Regions from separate parts of the Homo sapiens genome. Here all the other regions are linked to region 3. Evidence: promoter capture Hi-C in human tissues and cell types (Jung and others, 2019). All regions are on one chromosome and are shown on one strand. The core of a region is centred on a gene start or on the middle of the fragment in contact, and the rest is flanking DNA. Distances in the headings are between cores, read along the strand shown.

Region 1 (2,754 bases), core at 252-2,751, 850 kb after region 3:
GTTCAAGGTAAGGCAATCTCTGGCCTTCTAACCTTATATATCTTTTGGTTTAACTCTTTGTTCTCAATTCAGTTAATTACAGTGCAATGTCTAAAACCAAGAAGCGTATTTAAATCACTAATCTGAAGAGGCATGACTTGGAATTTGAGAGGCGTCTGAATACCCAACAGAAGCCTCTAGTGAGACAAGTGCCTGAAAAAGGAAGCGGCCCAGGAGGACGACTCCTTTCAGTCCTCTGTAGAGAGAATACGCACGATGGCTGCGCTTCTGAACTCTCCCGGGGTGGAAGCTGCAGCCTGGCTTTTAACCGGAATTGCCCAGACCTTGAAAGTGTTTCTTTGTTGCTCTTAAAAAGAGGAATTCACGTTGCATCGCAGTCTGTGATAAAGTCTGTCTTGGGGCAGAGCTGCATACGTTTTGTGTTTTTTTTTTTTTTCAGAAAAGAAAGGTCGAGAAAGAAAAAAACAAGTCATTCAGGGATGGTCCCTGTGGCCAGTCGGAAAGGTGAGAGACTCGGGCTTTGAAAACGATTCACATTCTGCCCTTTAACTTCAATGCCTTCCCTCCGGACTGCGCCGGAGCAGACGATTCAATGGACTCCTTTTGTATCCAGTTTATTGCTCAGAATCCCTAGGGTCTAGATTTGCTCTCAGAAGAAACGCGCCCCGCTGAGCTGCTCTGGGGGCTGCCCCTCCCGTCTCCCCATTCCTTTCTCCGGGCCGGGGAGGGCAGGGGAGGCAGCCACTGAGCCGATGTCGCTGGGGACCCGCACCAGGCACCACAGCCAGGCTCCAGAGCGGAGTCCCATAGGTGCGCTCCCAGCCCCCGTGTTGCGTCTGGAACGCAGTGGGAGTGGGCCCGGATCACCTTCCAATGACACCCGCATATACTCTGCAAACTGTGCAAAAGCCCTTGAAAAGTCCAGAGATGGGACAGAAGCCCCCAGCAGAACCCAGGCCGGAGCCCCGCGCACCTCGGATAAGGGGGTGGCGGAATGCACCCACCTGGTCCCTGAGGGCAGCACCCTTAGATTGCCCAGGCTGCCGCGGAGGAGGACGATCGCCGCGCGGGCTCCGCTCTCGCCGTCTGGGCCACCGGCGCGCACCCCTAGGAACTTCTCTGGCCGCGTGTAGACGCGGCGCGCGGCTGCCCCAGTCCCAGGGCGGAAGGAGCCGGCGCTGCTCAGCGCGCGCGGGTACGCAGCGGGCACCGCGGGACGCAGGTGCCCCTGGAGCCGCACGCGGGGCAGGTACAGAATCCAGTATGCAGAGGCAGAGGAGAGGGAAGAGAGCGGTGCGAGGAGCCCCGGGCCGCGCGACCCCGCCTTTTCCTCGCCCCAGGAGCTCCCAAAGGGAGCAAAACGCCCCCCACCCCCGCCCACCGCCGCGCCTCCGGGCCCCCTCGCCGCCGGCACACCGCGCTCTGATTGGCTGGCGCGATGGGTCCCTGGCACGCGCCTATGGATGTTGTTATAAGAATCCTCGCGTGCCGGCCCTCAGCTCCAGGAAGTCCGCCACAGCCCTCCCCAGCGCAGCGCGAGCGCGGGCCAGAGCGCAGCGGCCGCGGGCACTCCAGGGAGGCCCGGGGGCGGGCAGCCCGGCGGCCGCCTAGCTGCCCCCAGCCAGGGCCCCGGGAGGGAGGGGCTCGGACGGGCCTTAGAAACTCACCAAGAACTAACACGCGCAGCCCGGCAGTCCCGCTGCCCACTGCGGCGGCGAGCATGGACGCGGTGTTGCTGGAGCACTTCCCCGGGGGCCTAGACGCCTTTCCTTCTTCGTACTTCGACGAGGACGACTTCTTCACCGACCAGTCTTCACGGGACCCCCTGGAGGACGGCGATGAGCTGCTGGCGGACGAGCAGGCCGAGGTGGAGTTCCTTAGCCACCAGCTCCACGAGTACTGCTACCGCGACGGGGCGTGCCTGCTGCTGCAGCCCGCGCCCCCGGCCGCCCCGCTAGCGCTCGCCCCGCCGTCCTCGGGGGGCCTCGGTGAGCCAGACGACGGCGGCGGCGGCGGCTACTGCTGCGAGACGGGGGCGCCCCCAGGCGGCTTCCCCTACTCGCCCGGCTCGCCGCCCTCGTGCCTGGCCTACCCGTGCGCCGGGGCGGCAGTACTGTCTCCCGGGGCGCGGCTGCGCGGCCTGAGCGGAGCGGCGGCTGCGGCGGCGCGGCGCCGGCGGCGGGTGCGCTCCGAGGCGGAGCTGCAGCAGCTGCGGCAGGCGGCCAACGTGCGCGAGCGGCGGCGCATGCAGTCCATCAACGACGCCTTCGAGGGGCTGCGCTCGCACATCCCCACGCTGCCCTACGAGAAGCGCCTCTCCAAGGTGGACACGCTGCGCCTGGCCATCGGCTACATCAACTTCCTCAGCGAGCTCGTGCAGGCCGACCTGCCCTTGCGCGGCGGTGGCGCGGGCGGCTGCGGGGGGCCGGGCGGCGGCGGGCGCCTGGGCGGGGACAGCCCGGGCAGCCAGGCCCAGAAGGTCATCATCTGCCATCGGGGCACCCGTAAGTGCTTCCGCTTCCCAGCTCAGGGAGAAGGGGTCGGGCACTCGAAGGCTCCGGAGGGGCTGGGGGAGCTGACTGCCAAGCAGACAGTCGGACCGACGGATTGTCGGTGGGCACGGAAAAACTTGAATGCGAGCTCGCGTTTCTCGTTTTTTTTTTTTTTTTTATTTTTCTGCCACGTTGACCGCGGCTCTCAAGGGCGCGCGTCCCCGCCAGACTTGCAGCTCCTCGGATTCCTGGGAGGGGACGG
Region 2 (2,910 bases), core at 4-2,503, 870 kb before region 3:
AGGGTTCATTCTGATATAGTTTCTATATTAGTCCCCACCTAAACCTCATGTCAAACTGTAATCGCCAGTATTGGAGGTGGGGCCTGGTGGGAGGTGATTGGACCATGGGGGTGGATTTCTCATGAATGGTTAGCACCATCTCCTTGGTGCTCCCCTCACAATAGTAAGTGAGTTCACACAAGTTCTGGTCATTTAAAAGTGTGTGACACCTCTCCTCAACTCTCCGTCTCACTCCTGCTTTCACCATGTGAGACACGTGCTCCCCCTTCACCTTCCACCATGATTCGAAACTTCCCAAGGCCTCCCCAGACACAGGTGCCACTATGCTTCCTGTACAACCTGTAGCGTCATGAACCAATGAAACCTCTTTTTTATATGTATTACCCAGTCTCAGGTATTTCTTATTTCTTTCTTTCTTTTTTTTTTTTTTTAGACAGTATCTCACTCTGTCACGCAGGCTGGAGTGCAGTGGCTCGATCTCGGCTCACTGCAACCTCTGCCGCCTGGGTTCAAGCAATTCTCCTGCCTCAGCCTCCCTAGTAGGTGGGATTACAAGCACCCACCACCACACCTGGCTAATTTTTGTATTTTTAGTACAGACGAGGTTTCACCATGTTGGCCAGGCTCATGTGGACTTCAAGTGATCCACCCGCCTCAGCCTCCCAAAGTGCTGGGATTACAGGCGTAAGCCACTGTGCCCGGCAGGTATTTCTTTACAGCAATGCAAGAATGGCCTAATACAATTCTATACCATGATATTTGAATTCAGATGATCCAAATACCATCTCATATATGACAGGACACCTAGGATCCCCTCCAATTTTATGTATCTGGGGATTCTACAGAAAACAACTTTCTTCTCATCTCTTGTTCCAATGTCCTGTACCTGCTGAATTCTCAATCCCTCTCACATATCATCTTGTGAAGCTTTTTTCTTTCTTTTCTTTCTTTCCCTTTTATTTTTTTTAAGATGGAGTCTTGCTCTGTTGCCCAGGCTGGAGTACAGTGGCGCAATCTCGGCTCACTGTAACCTCCATCTCCTGGATTCAAGATATTTTCCTGCCTCCACCTCCTGAGTAGCTGGGATTTCAAGTGCGTGCCACCACACCTGGCTAATTTTTTTTTTTTTTTGTATTTTTAGTAGAGATGGGGTTTCACCATGTTGGTCTGGCTGGTCTCGAACTCCTGGTCTAGGTCTGCTCGACTAGGCCTCCCAAAGTGCTGGAATTACAGGCATGAGCCACTGTGCCCAGCCTTCTTTCTTTATATATACATATATATACACATATATTTTGAGATGGCGTCTCACTCTGTCACCCAGGCTGGAGTACAGTTAGCACGATCTCAGCTCACTGCAACATCTGAACCCTAAATTCAAGCAATTGTCCTGCCTCAGCCTCCCGAGTAGCTGGGATTACAGGTGCCCACAACAAGCCTGGCTAATTTTTGTATTTTTAATAGAGACTGGGTTTCACCATGTTGGCCGGGCTGGTCTCAAACTCCTGACCTCCAGTGATCCACCCGCGTCAGCCTCCCAGAGTGCTGGGATCACAGGCATGAGCCACCTCACCTGGCCCTGGGAAGCTTTTTTCTTTTTTTCTTTCTTTTTTGTTTTTTTAAGACAGAGTCTCACACTGTTGCCCGGGCTGGAGTGTAGTGGTGCCATCTCGGCTCACCGCAACCTCTGCCTCCTGGGTTCAAACAATTCTCCTACCCCAGCCTCCTGAGTAGCTGGGATTACAGGTGCCCACCACCACGCCCAGCTCATTTTTTGTATTTTTAGTAGAGACAAGGTTTCACTATGTTGGCCAGGCTGGTCTTGAACTCCTAACATCATGATCTGCCTGCCTCAGCCTCCCGAAGTGCTGGGATTACAGGCTTGAGCCACTGTGCCCAGCCTGAGAAGCTTTTTTCTACCTACAAAAGCTCATTTTCAAAGCATCCCACCCTCTGACCCTTCCCTCTTTTTTTTTTTTTTTTCTTAAGAGAGGGTCTCACTCTGGCCCCCAGGCTGGAGTGCAGTGACACTATCAGAGCTCACTGCAGCCTTGACCTCCCAGGCTCAAGCAATCCTCCCATCTCATCCTCCCAAATAGCTGAGACTATAGGCACATGCCACCACACCCAGATAATTTTTACTTTTTTTGTAGAGACAGCGTTTCACCAAGTTGCCCAGGCTGGCCTCGAACTCCTGAGCTCAAGTGATTTGCCCACCTCAGCCTCCCAAATTGCTCGGATTACAGGTGTGCACCACGACACTCAGCTGGAACACCATTTTTACTTGCAAGAACAACTGACAGATGTATGATTATTTAGGCTTCAGTGTTTGGCACATTGTCTCAACATTAAATGAAGTGAACCTATCACTTTAAGGAATACAGCTGACAGTGTTGGTTTCCAGTAATAAAATTTGAGCTTTCAAGCAAAAGCTAGAATTTTCAAAAACTTGAATCTGCCACTGTGAGCTTAAAACCTTCCCAATACTTAAAACTTTTCTGCTGAGATCAATGGCGATAATAACAAATGTGATTCTTTTAATATTGTGTAATGAAAAGCGCCAATATTTGGAAGATCTGCATGATTCAGGGAACCAATATTTTCCACATGACCAGTGCATGACGTTACAAAATTATGTATGGGCAAAAGGTCCATTTATAAGGCAAAATAAATCAATGAATTTTAATATAACAGAATACAAAAAGTTCATTGATATGAATGCAGATTCTACATTGCAACTACATTTTTAAGAAATTACCACTTGTCAAGTTTTGGTAGGGTACCAAAGAATAATACCTATGATTATCTAAAAATGCTACTAAAATACTCCTCTATTTTCCAGCTTTATGTCTATGTAAGGTGGAATTTTCTTCAACTACTTCAACCAAAATAACATTGCAACAGATTGATTGC
Region 3 (3,033 bases), core at 41-2,540:
AGACATGTACCTGCCCTTCGGGGGTATTAGGGACCCGACTAAACACACTTATTCTTCTCTCTGATTGCTGGACCATTCCCCAACTATTTGGAGCTCCACAAAGTATCAGGACTTCATCAAGAGCTCAGTGAAGGGTGAGATCTCAAAGATAAATATAGAGGACTCATTCCAAATATAGAACCAGTTAAGTTTGCATGCTCCCTTCTGTTGAAGAAATATCAAGGGGTTTCCTGTCTTGGCACTACTTAGCAGCAGCTGCGGCTATGTATCCACTTGACATCTGGTGAAATTGTAGTTTTTGATGGAGGAACATTTAAAGTTGACAACTGTCATTGAAACAACTGGTATATAGTTTTCAAAGACAAGCTAGAAACCAGTAATAGACTAAGTACTTCAATTTTGTTAAAAGAAACTGGGTAAAGGGTTCAAGTTATATAAGATAGGGAAGTCTGGTTTTCCAGGTAAAGGTTCTCTCTCTTTTTCTGTTGGAGATGTCATTCATCAACATAACGAAGCCTAAATTTAAAAGACTAAGACAAAATATTTACAAATCACATAAAAGTGAGGAAACAGCAAAATTAGTAGTCATTAGGAGAAAGCCAGGGAAGACAGGACATTCATCACATCCTTTCCTCATCTGCTTTCCTCACTGAGTCTCTGAGTGCTCATTAAATGCTTTCAATACAGTGTAATTAAGTGTGTGAACATGGTTGTCATGCTCCTCCAGGAATCTTGAAACCAGGAATGCCAGGTATATAACAGCGGGTTACAAAAGAAAACACGGATTCCTAAATCAGTGTTTTACTGTCAGTGCAGTGTTAAATGTCAATGCAACACTTAAGTTGCATTGACATTCATGTGTTGATCGGATTGTACAATGTGACGTGTGAGATTTCTCGGGACCGTCGAAGCTCAGACAACTCCAGGGCTGCAATTTACTCGTCTGGCTGCCCTCGAACCAGGCTCCCTTGGCGCGTGGGGCTCTCCCGGCGCTTGGTCCCGACCCGCGCCGCAGTCAGGATACCACGGCAATCTGGGGTCGCTTTGTAAGGAGCTCCGACCTCCGGGCAGTGCAGGGATACTCGACGGCGCGCGATGTCCCGGCGGCTCCGCGAGCCTGGCGCGCTGAGAGCCCCAGCAGTCCGAGTCCTCGAGCTCGGGCGTCTTCGCGCCGCCGCCCCGCTCAGTGCGCCCAGGCACCGCGGCCGTGACGTCACGCCCGGGACTGGCCGTTGCAGCAAGACGGCCGCGTTCCGGTTCCGGTAGGTTGCCCGGGAGACGCGGGTACACAGAGAAGCGGCTCCCGTCGGAGGCCGAGTCGTCGCCACGATCGCCCCCTTGGTGGACTCGCAGGCCGAGCGGCTTCCCCGCAGAGCTCGAGGAGGGCAGACGGCGGCGGGGGCGCCATGAGTCAGAGGCAGGTGCTGCAAGGTAGGGCCGAGGCGGGCAGGTGCCCTAACTAGCTGGCGCCGAGGAGACCCGGGTGCGGTGGGCTCCACCGACTCTCTCTCCCGCAGTGTTCGAGCAATACCAGAAGGCCAGGACCCAGTTCGTGCAGATGGTGGCGGAGCTGGCGACTAGACCCCAAAACATCGAGACGCTGCAGAACGCGGGTGAGCCCGGAGCCCGAACCCCCGTCGCCCCCCGCGCACTGAGTCCCCGACGCCTCCGCCCCGCTGCCCTGCCCGTGGAGCTCTTGGGGAGCCGCAGTGTGGGGACCGGAGTTCGCAAAAGCATCCATTCTTTTCAGCGGGTCTTTGGGGGTCAGGCCGAGAGGGTGAAGCTTCCAGATGGTTGTGGGAGGTGCGCGTTGTCCCTGTTTCCATCTTCATTGCACACAGGCAAGTGTCAGGTTGAAAGTCGAGGCCCTAGGAATTGCCTGGAGTCATTTTACGTGAATGGGACTCTACCCTAATGAGACCCATTTTATCCAAGTGCCATTTTGCATGCCACCCTGCCTTTGATCACCTTCGACTTCCTCACAGCAAAGCAATTCCAGTGGTTTAGACGTGATTTCTCGTCTTGCTTTAGTGAAAGGGGAATGATATGCTTGAATCTTTTCCAAGAAATTCCAAGTAGGTAGAGACCAGACTTTGCGAAATCCTTATGGCGCGTTCCTTCTACTCCTCAGTCCGGACTCTTGCAGATGTGAGAGGGGGAGAGAGGGGGAGAGGGAGGGAGAGAGATCTTCTTATCTCATAACATAAACTGATAAGAGAAAATGGTTCTTCTTCTTCTTCTTCTTCTTCTTCTTCTTCTTCTTCTTCTTCTTCTTCTTCTTCTTCTTCTTCTTTCTTCTTCTTCTTCCTCTTCTTCTTCTTCTTTTCTTCTTTCTTCTTTCTTCTTCTTTTTTTTTGGATGATTCTACCACCATCTGAACTGTAAGGTAGCATTTTATCACTACTGTGTCATGAGAAATCTTCAGTTTATAGGATGTGATCTTTAAAACTAACACATAATTTAAACAATTAACATGTTGACAGCAAGAATACTTAAGTGTAATGATTACTCTGGGTTTCTTTGAGGGGAATTACTACTGCACCTATGTGATACTTCGTTTTGTCACTAGGATTTTTGGCATTTATTCCTTGTGTGTTTTTATTGGGGGGCATGTATTTACAATAAAGTATATTTTATAATCTTCTAAACGCATTTTAGTTTGAAATAATTGTAGATTCACAACTGTAAGGGATAATACAGAGAGATCCCGTGTACCCTTTTCTCAGTTTCCCCAATGGTAACATTTTTCAAAACTGTAGTGCAATATCACAAGGAGGACATTGACATTGATAAAAATTCGTTGATCTTATATAGGTTTCCTCCTTTTAATTGTTCGTGTGTGTGTGTGTTTTGTCCTATAGAATTTTATTCCGTGCGTATCCACCACCAGCACAGTCAAGATACAGAACACTTTCATTGTCACAAGGATCCTCTCTCTTGCCCTTTTATAGCCACACACACCTCCTGCTATCCCTAACCCTGGACAACCACTAATCTCTTCTCCATTTCTAAAATTTTGTCATTTCAGAATTG

Evidence for each region. Contacts are between HindIII fragments. The study calls those that stand out against the background at their distance.
Region 1: a contact is called between the fragment with the promoter of PTF1A here and the fragment with the promoter of SPAG6 in region 3, in 1 of the 25 tissues and cell types used here (H1 embryonic stem cells).
Region 2: a fragment that was not itself captured here is called in contact with the fragment with the promoter of SPAG6 in region 3 in 1 of the 25 tissues and cell types used here (dorsolateral prefrontal cortex).

The regions. Positions count from the first base shown.
Region 1 is chr10:23,190,811-23,193,564 of GRCh38, forward strand. It overlaps PTF1A (pancreas associated transcription factor 1a), which reads left to right and starts at 1,502. Exons shown (of 2, transcript NM_178161.3): 1 at 1,502-2,504. The coding sequence starts at 1,721. The HindIII fragment of the contact is 16,553 bases long and covers 1-2,754 here.
Region 2 is chr10:21,469,602-21,472,511 of GRCh38, forward strand. No RefSeq gene overlaps it. Among named protein-coding and RNA genes, the nearest start is that of MIR1915, 26 kb to the right of the region's middle. RefSeq lists a silencer at 1,926-2,120. The HindIII fragment of the contact is 3,112 bases long and covers 1-2,809 here.
Region 3 is chr10:22,344,206-22,347,238 of GRCh38, forward strand. It overlaps SPAG6 (sperm associated antigen 6), which reads left to right and starts at 1,291. Exons shown (of 11, transcript NM_012443.4): 1 at 1,291-1,431; 2 at 1,518-1,613. The coding sequence starts at 1,407. RefSeq lists enhancers at 1,140-1,359, 1,320-2,136. The HindIII fragment of the contact is 4,842 bases long and covers 1-3,033 here.